Regions from separate parts of the Homo sapiens genome. Here region 2 is linked to region 1. The links are contacts of gene promoters, found by promoter capture Hi-C in blood cells and fetal thymus (Javierre and others, 2016). All regions are on one chromosome and are shown on one strand. Each heading gives the region's core, a stretch centred on a gene start or on the middle of the fragment in contact. The rest is flanking DNA. Distances are from core to core; before and after follow the strand shown. Region 1 holds the start of ZAR1L (zygote arrest 1 like). Region 2 overlaps RXFP2 (relaxin family peptide receptor 2).

The links. The method cuts DNA at HindIII sites, captures the fragments that hold promoters and counts their contacts. A CHiCAGO score of 5 or more calls a contact.
Region 2: a fragment that was not itself captured here is called in contact with the fragment with the promoter of ZAR1L in region 1 in 1 of 17 cell types (M2 macrophages); the score reaches 5.7 in M2 macrophages.

What each region holds. Positions count from the first base shown.
Region 1 is chr13:32,310,837-32,316,612 of GRCh38, reverse strand. It overlaps ZAR1L (zygote arrest 1 like), which reads left to right and starts at 1,250. Exons shown (of 6, transcript NM_001136571.2): 1 at 1,250-1,298; 2 at 2,063-2,283; 3 at 4,520-5,341. The coding sequence starts at 4,688. BRCA2 (BRCA2 DNA repair associated) reads right to left here and starts at 1,105. Exons shown (of 27, transcript NM_000059.4): 1 at 946-1,105; 2 at 86-191. The coding sequence starts at 152. RefSeq lists an enhancer at 446-715, a promoter at 824-1,320, a cis regulatory region at 1,649-1,715 and a silencer at 1,834-2,054. The HindIII fragment of the contact is 7,545 bases long and covers 1-1,526 here.
Region 2 is chr13:31,800,096-31,806,171 of GRCh38, reverse strand. It overlaps RXFP2 (relaxin family peptide receptor 2), which reads right to left. Exons shown (of 18, transcript NM_130806.5): 18 at 2,783-4,026. The coding sequence ends at 3,767. All of the region lies in intron 2 of LOC105370152 (a long non-coding RNA gene), which reads left to right. Among named protein-coding and RNA genes, the nearest start is that of RXFP2, 64 kb to the right of the region's middle. The HindIII fragment of the contact is 1,695 bases long and covers 2,764-4,458 here.

The sequences.
Region 1 (5,776 bases), core at 1-2,500:
TGTGACGTACTGGGTTTTTAGCAAGCATTTTTTAGAAAACACTTTCTCGGTGTAATTTATAAAGTTATATAAAATTTGTCAATACCTGCTTTGTTGCAGCGTGTCTTAAAAATTTCAAAAAATGTTGGCCTCTCTTTGGATCCAATAGGCATTTTTACCTACGATATTCCTCCAATGCTTGGTAAATAAGTCTGCAAAACAGAAGACCAAAATGCACTTACACAGGGATGCATTCCTTATTATGTGACTGAGGTAAAACTCAGAAGCGCTGGAAAATTTGTTTGAATTCTAATTCAGTCCCATCTCCTGGAACGGTAACAGCTTACTGTGAGGATGGGAACATTTTACAGCTGTGCTGTCCAAACCGGTGCCACTAGCCACATTAAGCACTCGAAACGTGGCTAGTGCGACTAGAGAAGAGGATTTTCATACGATTTAGTTTCAATCACGCTAACCAGTGACGCGTGGCTAGTGGGGACAGAGGGCTCCAGTTAGAGACCAACGCCGCCTGGTAATTCCCATCAGCATGTCTTCGGAATACAGCAATTACCAGGGGCTTAAGTAAGGCAAATACAGCGTGCCCAGCAGCTGTAAAACACTTCCCCAAAACAGCAATATTCCGTTAAAGTGATCGTGTTTCCAAGAAATTTCAGATGGCGTCATCTGGGACAGCTGGGAGGGAAGTTAAGTCTTGAGCTGAAGGCGGAGCCCAAAGGCCGGGCCGGAGGCGGGAAATGGAGACCCAGGGAAGGGGCGGGGCTCGAATTTGCTTGGCGAAAATCTGCCTTCGGGCAAGGACCTTTCTCTCAGGCATGGGTGGGGGTTGGCAGAGACAAAAGGGCAAGAAGCCGCGGCAGCGACCCGGGGCGTGAGGCGCTCCCCCGCCACGCTGGACTGGGACTGCGGAAGACGCGCTCGTCCCAACCCACTACCACCACCACTAACCCGCTCCAGAGGTGCAGTTCTTTTTTGGCCGGAGTAAGCTGACAAAAACCGCGCCGGTCACAAATCTGTCCCCTCACGCTTCTCCCGGCGGCGACCCACCGCCGCAAAAGACACCCGAGGCGCAGCAGAGGCGCAGCAGTGCCACAGCGGCTCCGCCTCTGCCGCCTAGTTTCAGAAGCTCGCGCCACAAGCCCGCGCTGGCCACGTGACGCCGTGACGCGACACGCAGCACACGCACCACCCGGAAGTCAGGCCTGGGTGGGCCGCTGCGGGTATTTCTCAGTGTGGCGAAAGGAAATTCCTTGTCAGGCATCCCAACCGTCAGTATCTGACCGAATAAAGCGGGAGCTGGAGTGTGTGTTCTCTTCTCGCTGACCCTTAAGAGTCCCAGGCCACCCTGCTTGGAGGGGCCGCCCCTATGCCTACTCCAAGTCCCCCATCCCTTTCTTTTTGCTCCAGCTCATGTTTGGGTGGGCGCCCTCGGGACACGACCTGGGACCTATGAAATACCTTTGTTCTGACCTTAAAAGGGATGTTCTCTCAAGACCTGTTCCCCAAAGCGAGCCGATCTTACAAAAGCTTAGAGTGGTCGGTGTGTGGTTGTGGATGACTTCACTTAGTGGTAGTGGGCGGGGCTGTTATTTGAAATCAGAGGATTTTAGTTCCAGTAGCTGTTCTGCTATTGGGTAGCAGGTGTTCAAGACCTCCGAGCCCGTTTCCTTGCTTGAAAAATTGTGAAACCCATCTTAACTCGCTCATGAAGTGTGAGGTACCTTGCTCCGCAGGGCTTGGTAGTATCTTTTGCTTTTTTTTTTGAGACGGAGTTTCGCTCTTGTGGCCCGGGCTGGTGTGCAATGGCGCAATCTCCGCTCACCGCAACTTCCGCCTCCAGGGATCAAGTGGTTCTCCTGCCTCAGCCTCCCGAGTAGCTGGGAATACAGGCATGGGCCACCACGCACGGCTAACTTTGCATTTTTAAGTAGAGACGGGGTTTCTCCGTTGTTGGTCAGTCTGGTCTCAACCTCCCGACCTCAGGTGATCTGCCTGCCTCGGCCTCCCAAAGCGCTGGGATTACAGGCATGAGCCACCACACCCGGCCCATCTTTTGCATTCTTAGGATTCGGATCACCTGTCTTCCTCGCAGGCTGAACTGGAAGACCTGACTTCATCTCCGAATTCGTTGGTTCTGTAACATGCCTAATACAAGGCTGAATAGGGTTTGTTGTAAGACCTACAAAACCTTCAAATGGATTCAGTGAGAGTTGCTCCCATGGGGGCCTTGCTGCTTCCAGAAGGTGCTTGAGCAGTAAACAGAAGCAACCTTGGATTAGGAAAAGGGTGGGCTCCGCTTGGTTCCTTAGGGACCATTTTAGTTTGATAATCAGTAATCCTTAGTTGTAGAAGGAGGCCTTACTAATGCAGATAGATTCTAAAGCTTTTGCTCTAAGTCTAATTCGCAAAGAAATACGTCTGTGATCCTTACTAATAACAGCTGCCACTTACCAAACATTTTATGAGTTAGGCATTCTGCTTTGGGTTTTCAAGCAATACCATGTTTAATCTTACAGTAATCCTGTAAATTGGTCAGTATTGTCAGATGAGGATACTGAATCAAGTAGTTAAGTAATGTGCCTGGTAGTAAGGCCCAGGTTTGAATTCTAGTCCATTTGACTTCATACACTTAACTAACCTGTGATTTATTTACCCTATAAATCAGAACAATATGCTTTGTCCCCTTTTTGTGGGGGAGGGGTGTCTCACTAGGAGTGGACTAATGAGAACCCGTGGCATGTCACACAAGTCTCAGAAATAACATTTTCTGTCATTTTATACAGCCCCCCATACCTTTATGTTTCTTGTTCTCTTTGTACCAGGGACTTGCAACTTATTAGCTCCACCATAATAGACTTTCTCACCTATTCTCTTCTAGTGCAGCTGCTCAATTTACTATTTGTATTCAATTTACAATATGCTTTAATTTTTCTTAAAAACATTATTTCCAGCTGGGCATGGTGGCTCACGCCTGTAATCACAGCACTTTGGGAGGCCAAGGTGGGCAGATCACCTGAGGTCAGGAGTTCGAGACCAGCCTGGCCAACATGGCAAAACCCTGTCTCTACTAAAAATACAAAAATTAACTGGGTGTGGTGGCATGTGCCTGTAATCCCAGCTACTTGGGAGGCTGAGGTGGGAGAATCACTTGAACCCCAGAGGCGGAAGTTGCAGTGAGCCGAAATCATGCCACTGCACTCCTGCCTGGGAGACAGAGCAAGGAAACTCCATTTCAAACAAGCAAACAAACAAAAACCCAAAAAACCATTATTTCCTAAAAGTTGTATATATTTAATGTGCACAACATGTATATGTACACAGTGAGATGATTACTATAGTCAAGCAATTAACATATCCATCTGTTCACATAATTACCTTTCTTTTGTGTGCGGTGAGAGCACCTGAAATTTCTCTTTGAAACTTTTCAGTATAAAATACAGTATTGTTAACTGTAGTCGTTATGCTGTAAATTAGATCTCTAGACTCATTCATTCTACCTAACTGTAACATTTTAGGCTCTGACCAGTCTCTCTCCATTCCCCCCAACTTCCTGTCCCTGGTAACCACCATTCTACTTTCTGCTTCTATGTATTTGACTTTTTCAGATTCCACATATCAGTGAGTTTATGCAGTATTTTTCTATCTGGCTTATTTCACTTAGCATAATGTTCCCCAGTTTCACCCATGTTGTTGCAAATGGCAGGATCTCCTGTTTTTTGTTTGTTTGTTTGTTTGAGACGGAGTCTTTCTCTCTCTGTTGCCCAGACTGGAGTGCAGTAGTGTGATCTCAGCTCACTGCAACCTTTGCCTCCCGGGTTCAGGTGATTCTCCAGCCTCAGCCTCCCGAGTAGCTGGGATTACAGGAGCGTGCCACCATACCCGGCTGATTTTTGTATTTTTATTAGAGGCAGGGTTTCATCATGTTGGCCAGGTTGGTCTCGAACTCCTGACCTTAGGTCATCTGCCTGCCTCGGCCTCCCAAACTGCTGGGATTACAGGTGTGAGCCACCGCGCCTGGCCAGGATCTCCTGTTTTAAGGCTGAATAATATTCCATTGTATAAATACATGCCACAATTTCTCTATCCATTTTTCTGTTAACAGACACTTAGATTGTTTCCATAACTTGGCTATTGTGCATAATGCTACAACGAACAAGGAAGTGAAGGTATCTCTTCAGGATATTGATTTCATTTCCTTTGGGTAAATACGCAGTGGTGGGATTACTGGATTATCTGGTACTTCTATTAACTTTTTTAAGGAACCTTCATACTGTTGTCCATAATGGCTGTACCTTAAAACATTATCTAACATTACCACATTACCTTACAAAGGATCTTTAGAATGGTCACTACAGGAATATATGAATTAATCACTAATTAAAGCATATGTGTGAATAAGCTGGAAATGAAAAACAGCTTTGAAAAAAAGATTCCCGAACAGTGAAGAGGTAGGGAAAAGCAATTAGGTAGGAATCAGGTGGCAATTAGACATCTGTAGATAGAGCTTCTCTCCCTCAATCAGGGTAATAAGCAGCAGCTCCCATTAGAATCTGAAATAAATGGAGAAGCCAGGAATGAATCTGAACCAACCTGATGAAGAGAAAGAAGGGGCGGATGAAGGAGGAAGGCAAAATAAGGACCCAAACAAACTGGCTAGGATATTAGACTGCGCCTGAGCACCTGAGAGCGGATGGAGCGCTTTGTCCGTGTTCCCTATGGCTTGTACCAGGGTTATGGGAGCACAGTGCCTTTGGGCCAGCCTGGACTCTCAGGGCACAAACAGCCCGACTGGAGGCAAAATATGGGTCCTCCCACTTTTCTGGCCAGGCCAGGGCTGCTGGTGCCCGCGAACGCCCCTGACTACTGCATTGACCCTTACAAGAGGGCGCAGCTTAAGGCCATTCTCTCCCAGATGAACCCCAGCCTGAGCCCGCGGCTGTGCAAGCCCAACACCAAGGAGGTGGGCGTGCAGGTGAGCCCGCGGGTGGACAAGGCTGTGCAGTGCTCTCTGGGGCCTCGCACCCTCAGCAGCTGCTCCCCCTGGGACGGCAGAGACCCCCAGGAGCCCCTGCCAGCCTGTGGGGTCACTTCGCCCGCCACCGGCCGCAGGGGCTTGATCCGCCTGCGGAGAGATGGGGACGAAGCGGAGAGCAAGGCGCTCCCGGGCCCTGCGGAGGCCAGCCAGCCGCAGCCACCATCACGGAGGTCAGGAGCTGACAGGCAGGAGGAGCCCGGGCAGCTGGAGGAATCGGGGGAGAAAGACGCCCCGTGCCCTCAGGAGACGAAGAGCAAGCAGGTGCCTGGAGACGCCGCCTCCGAGCCGCTCCGGAGGCCCAACTTCCAGGTAGATCCTCTCTTCCCTCTTCTTAGTCCTCGACCAGCCTCATCCCCTCCCTCCTTTTCCATCTATGGGGGCAATAAGAGCAAAATCTTCTCTCTCTTCTTCCATGTACTTGGTGAAGGAGAGGGAGCTCTGAAAATATGTATATCACGTGGCCTGTATGTTTGGTAAGTTTTGGGTAAAATAGGTGCCAACCCAAACTAAGCCTGTGAAAACCAACAGTCTGGCAACCACTGCTATTGGAGAATTTGGAGACGAAGAAGGGCTTCGAGTCTGTAATACATGAAATCAGACTTTCGTTTTGGGAAGATTGTGCCGGTAGCATTGTGGAAAATGGATTGGAAAAGTACAAACGACAGCAGCAAGAAGAATCCCAGAGTAATCTTTAAGAGAGATGAGAAACTGAATCAATGCCGTAGTCTTGAGAATAGATACAAG
Region 2 (6,076 bases), core at 2,362-4,861, 510 kb after region 1:
AAGAAATGTCACCATGGGCTTCAGACAGCAGAAGGTTCACATTTCTGGATGTGCAGTTTTGTAACTTGGCCTTATTCTTCCCAATTTCTTCATTTTTAATTTACTTCTTCCGTATGCGGGATGTGGGGAAATATCCTGAAGACAATTCTAATGAAATACGTTGAGTAATAGGTTCTATTAGTTTATAGGGCTTTAGGAAGTATTTCTCAAGGACTTCGAAGTCTCCTACTGAAAAGCCCTTTAAAAAGAGAATAGTCTAATTTCATTTAATTTTCCTGGCTCAAAAATGAAAATGATCATTACTAAATATGCATCTTACATCCTGCATAAACAGAATGTCAGAAAACTGATATATAGGCCGGGTGCGGTGGCTCACGCTTATAATCCCAGCACTTTGGGAGGCCGAGGCGGGCGGATCACGAGGTCAGGAGATTGAGACCATCCTAGCTAACACGGTGAAACCCCATCTCTACTAAAAATACAAAAAATTAGCCAAGCGTGGTGGTGGGCACCTGTAGTCCCAGCTACTCAGGAGGCTGAAGCAGGAGAATGGCGTGAACCCAGGAGGTGGAGCTTGTAGTGAGCCGAGATTGTGGCACTGCACTCCAGCCTGGGCGACAGGGTGAGACTCCGTCTCAAAAACAAAAACAAAAACAAAAACCTGACATATAAACAGGCAAATATATAAGCAGATCTTTGTAATGGCTCTCCCTTTCTTTATTCAACAGGGTAAGGGAATAAGGAAATACAAATTCTTATCTTTAATTAATATTTTGTTTCTTGAGTGAAGTTGTCTAAGGCAACTTTGTAAGTGCCCATTTATGCTACATTGAAAACAATGAAAAAGGAATGTGCCTTAAAGTATTTCTGGTTAATTTTGGAAGATATATTTCTGTCAGCTCCCCTTGGGCCATTTATAAAATAATAGGTTAGATATGATTGGTGACACTCTATGGTTTCTCCTTTCTATCATGTGCACTCTCGGGAGCTCTGTATTGCTTACTAACTTGAGGATGGTAAGGTAAGTCTTTACCTTGGGTGAGATAAAGTCTTGAAAATGTAGCATGAGCAAATCTGTAGCAAATCACCAAATATGAATTCAATCTGGCAGCAGAGTCATCCTTAAGAGATAAACCTTGGGGTGATGGGCCTGCTTTTGTGGCTTCATGATGCCATGGAGACCTGCTGAATGGAGCTGTGGAGCTGGGGTGTAGGGTAGGGTTGGGGAAAGGTGATAGTGCTACCTGTACATAAAGCTCAAATAAATATAATTTATCCTGAAGCTCCTGACCATCAAGAGGCATTTCAGCAATTGCAATGGACATGAACTCTTTTGATAGAATAGTTTATGTCGATTGCAATTTCTGAAATAGCCTACTGAATTAAAAAAAGCTATGAAAGCTATGAACAAAAGCCTCTAGGATGAAGCAAAGTTATGTAAACTATCTTATCAATGTCTAACACAAATAAAACACATACCCTTTTTCTGTACACTCGTCTGAAGCTCCATATTGATTTTTGGGGGTATTTTTTTCTTATCCTCTTCAAGACATCAGTCATATACAGATGCATAGTTAGGATGTGGAGCAGATGATTTGCCCACACCCTCTCCCACTCAGAGATGGCACCGTCTGTGGCCTCTGAAATTCTGCAGTGACATTTAATTGATGCTTAGATTGTCATGGAAAATGGTTCATGGACACAGGTGATATTTTCATAACCACACAGAAATACCATGTTTAGAAAACAGGCTTGGCCTAGCACAAAAGTTCTCACTCAATCCACATTAAAGACTATTATTTACTAAAATAATACAAATTTCTAATGGTTTTCTATTTGCAGAGCAGTACAGAATAAGACTATAAATTACCAAGCTATCAGATATGAAGTTCATGCTATTTGTTGGCATGTTGCTGACCTATGTAGAGCTCCCATTTTTCCATACAGCTGCCACCTTCCCCAAAGCATCTGGTTGCGTGCCTCTTCTCATGCCCACTCACTGCACTACAGTAAAGTGCGGGCTCTTACATGGTTCCCAAAGACTTGGTTCATGGACCACGGATGATGCTTTTCAAGAACGGGAGACACACATTGGTGCTAAAATTACAATACCCTAGGCTCAGGGTCTACCCCTTATTTATGCTCCTGGTGTTAGAAAATGTATTAGGAAATAAATCGTAAGATGATCAAGGACTGGCAAAGACATCTGATAAAATGTCAGCAAACCTGGAAAACAAGTTAGGAAGCAATTCATCATACTGAAGAAACAAGATGGAGAAAAATTTAAAGCCATAAAGGAAAGGGTAGCATAGTCAATGAGTGGGAACATTATTTCTAGAATCCTAATGAAAATCTTTTATTATACATGAGAAATATCTTACTTGATCAAAATGAATGAACTCACGTTATGATTTTAGTCAATAGTGAGTAATAACAAGTAAATTACCAGAATGGCTGAGACCCATAAACTCTGAATTTCTTTCTCTTCTGGATGCTACTGGATAAAGGGTGTCCATTTAATATGTAATAGGAGGTATTGTGGTGGTCTTAGTCAGCTGCTTACATTTTATCTCATTAAAGGAACTCAGAATGAAGTGAACAGTGAAGAAATTAAGTAACTGCCTCATGCTGTGGCAAAAGGGGAAGAGAGAAAAATATAGGATGTGTCTTGTGAACTGAAATGCTGTGTTTCCTGGCTGTATTCTTTATCAGGAGAAACATGCTTAACAGTCAACAAACCCCATCCATGGTCTTTGTTAAGCTTAAATTAATATATGGACAAGTGCAAAATATAATTTTATTTACCCAGTTCTCATTTTCACATATAATTTTTTTCAGTTTCGTTTTCAAAAAACCACCCCAAACTTCATTGCTTTTTTGTTAAAAACAATGAGAACAAAACCATTGTGAGTATGCAAACAGTCCCAAATAAAACCATAATTCTTGAATCCCATTTAACACTTCTTATCTGCATATTTTATGAAAGCAGAACTTGCCAGCAATAGGGATACTGCTCTAAAGAAATTATACTTTAAGAATATTAAAGTGTACTTTTTAGCAGTGAAAGTGTCCAATTTGTTTGTGCCCTGGGCAACCTTCAGAAAAATATCTTAAGAATTCATCTCTTCTGATATTAAATAAAATCCAAAAGGCAAATGGTATGAGGCTTCATCAGTGTGACTCTCTGGTCATAGGTTAGACATGGTAACCTGGTTGGAAGTTCTGTTTTCAAAGTGGCTACTCCACCGGCCTTCACAGAGGAGGACTTCGGGTAGATGAATATTTTGGAAATCCTTTGCTATCAATCCAGCAGGATGCTGATGGTTTTATTTGATATTGAAAAGGCAAGGAAAGAGTTGTTAGATTTCTGTTATTATGGCCACACTGGAATCAGATGTTGTGAGTGTTTCTATTTCATGGACAGTGCAACCCGATGTGAAAGACCACACAGTGCCAACCTGTGGTCATTTGTTGGTGGGTTGTGTTGATTAGCTAGAGATCAGCTGCACCTCAGCCCACTATACACGAATTCACATGTGCTTTTCAGGCATGTGGGGTGAGGAGAGGAACCTTTGGTGCTGTCCTCAGCATGGTTGGTAGATAGTACAGCTGCCATTGGAATGCAGTGACAGGAGCCATTCTGCTGTGCTCTCTGTGCAGAAAGGCTTGCCGTTGGTAAAGATGAAAAGCATTGCAGATGTCATCTTCCAAAAGCTGTCCCCTGTTTTAGGTAGTCCACTGAAAGTCCAGTGATCCAAAATGATTGCTAGGAAACTGGTTTCATTATACTGTCTCCAAGTGTTATTTTGTTCAAAACCCCAAGTTTCAGGGAAGAGGAGTCCTCTATCCACACAATGGATGTAGATAAACTTTTTTTTTTAATTTTGAAAATTGATTTCCTCTGATGTTTGTGCAGCAGCTGTTTCAACTTGTCCTTAAAAAAGTTGGTTGTGAGAGTATAGAGGATTGGATTCAAAGCACTGTTAACTGGAAGGAAAAAAATCACTATCCAGGAAGTCATTGTGTCTGGAAAAGGAAGCAAAGTGTGAAAAAAAAGTTGAAGTTTTAAATAGACATAAAATACAAATAACACTTTGCAGTCAATGCTATTTATGAGAGGGAGACATAGTACATTTTAAGTTTTCTCTCACCTGAAGGAAAATCTTTGTTGGAAGAGCACAGAAGCTATGAATTCAAGGTCTTAACGATTTAACTTTTCTGAGTTTCAGTAAATAATGTGAAGGTCATTGTGATATTAACAGGAAATATGTGAAAACATTTTGTAAACTATAAATTGCTATATAATGCATTTTTTCCTATTTTATCACCTTCCTTTATAGGAAAATAAAAAAATAAAGAAATAATCTTTAGTCAATAGAGTGAGGTTCACAAAACTTCTGGTCCCCTGGACCAAGCCAGATCTGACCTTGGTCTTAACTCCATCCAGTTCTCAAAGCTTATTGCCCTGCCCTGGTGTTCTGGTTATCCTGTTATCCTATTAAAAGCTTTGAAGAGCAAAGAGGAATGCATTCCCTAAACTTGATGAAATTCTCTTGTGTGCAGCCCTACAAATGCTAATAGAATATTCAGGGAAAGAGGTCACAAGAAGTTCTTTGTGAGGTGAAATTTGGAATGATAGTGTCCTTCCTGAGAGCATCATTTCATTTGCTTGGTTAGCACAAAATGCATCTTTCCCTTTACACGTGGCCTGATCCTGTGGCCGGACACTTAGCTAGGTTGAGTGTGAGCGAATCACTTATGCTTCCTCAACTTCATCTGCTCTCTCTGTTAAAGGGGGCTGGTGATAACTTGCTCACTGAATCCAGCGGGCTGGGCCAGAGTCAGCTCTGCTGATGTGCTTTTTTGGTACTAAGACTTGAGATCCTCAAACCTTACCACAGGACGCTACTTCCTCTCACATCTTCACAATTTCAAGGAACTCCCCATTCAGGTGAAGAGGTGGCTAGTAAGACCCATGATGCTTTCTCTCATCATCCTCTGCTCTCCTCCTTCGCAATCTCATAATTTTTTTTATCCTTCAGCCACTGTTATTTTGTTCTTCTCTTGACCCTGCCTTATTTCTTGTATCTTTCTGTTCTTCCTCTCTATGTCTTCTTCCTTTTCCATTTCTTCTCTGACTGCTTATCTGACCTTCCTTCTTCTTTTCCTTTGATCTCTTTCCTCTCCTTTTCTATATTTACCTTCCTCTCTTCCTATCCTATCTTCTCTTCCTTGTCCTTATTTTTTAACTGAAAGGAATATGAAAGAAAAAAATTATGTTTTAGCCTGTCTTAAATTAAGTTTTATATTATTTGTCCCTAATTTAAAAAAATTAGACAATCTGAACAGTTAGTGATTGAAGAAAAACAAAATAAGTGGCCTTTTTCTGTTGTGCCCACAAAGGGAATTGTGATCACGAATCCCACCCCAATCTCACAGAAAAACAATGCCTGATAGTGCCTGCTTTCAATTAGGCAAAGGCAAATAGGCCACGTAAGTTCCACTCTGAATGAAATCAGGCATGTTCAGGGTGGTATGGCCATAGACTTAAGTTCTACTCTGAATGAGACTTCTTTTTGTTTTTGTTTTGTTTTGTTTTTGAAATGGAGTCTCACTCTGTCGCCCAGGCTGGAGTGCAGTGGCACGATCTCGGCTCACTGCAAGCTCTACCTCTTATGTTCATGCCATTCTCCTGCCTCAGCCTCCTGAGTAGCTGGGACTACAGGCACCTGCCACCATGCCCGGCTAATTTTTTATATATTTTCAGTAGAGACGGGGTTTCACCGTGTTAGCCAGGATGGTCTTGATCTCCTGATCTCGTGATCTGCCCACCTCGGCCTCCCAAAGTGCTGGGATGAGACTTCTTATAAGATTAGCAGCAGCTGAGTTCTGAGATAGGCTAACTCTGGCCTATCTTTTGGGTGACCCCAGGTACTGTCAGTGGCATGCCATAACCAGTAAATGCCAGACTTCTTGGAGGGTGGGGACAGGGTTGGTTTAGGTCAGTGAAGGCAGCATTTCTTACAACGCCATGGGAAGCTGGGCAAGCGAGAAGAAGCTTTGTCAACTGTGATCA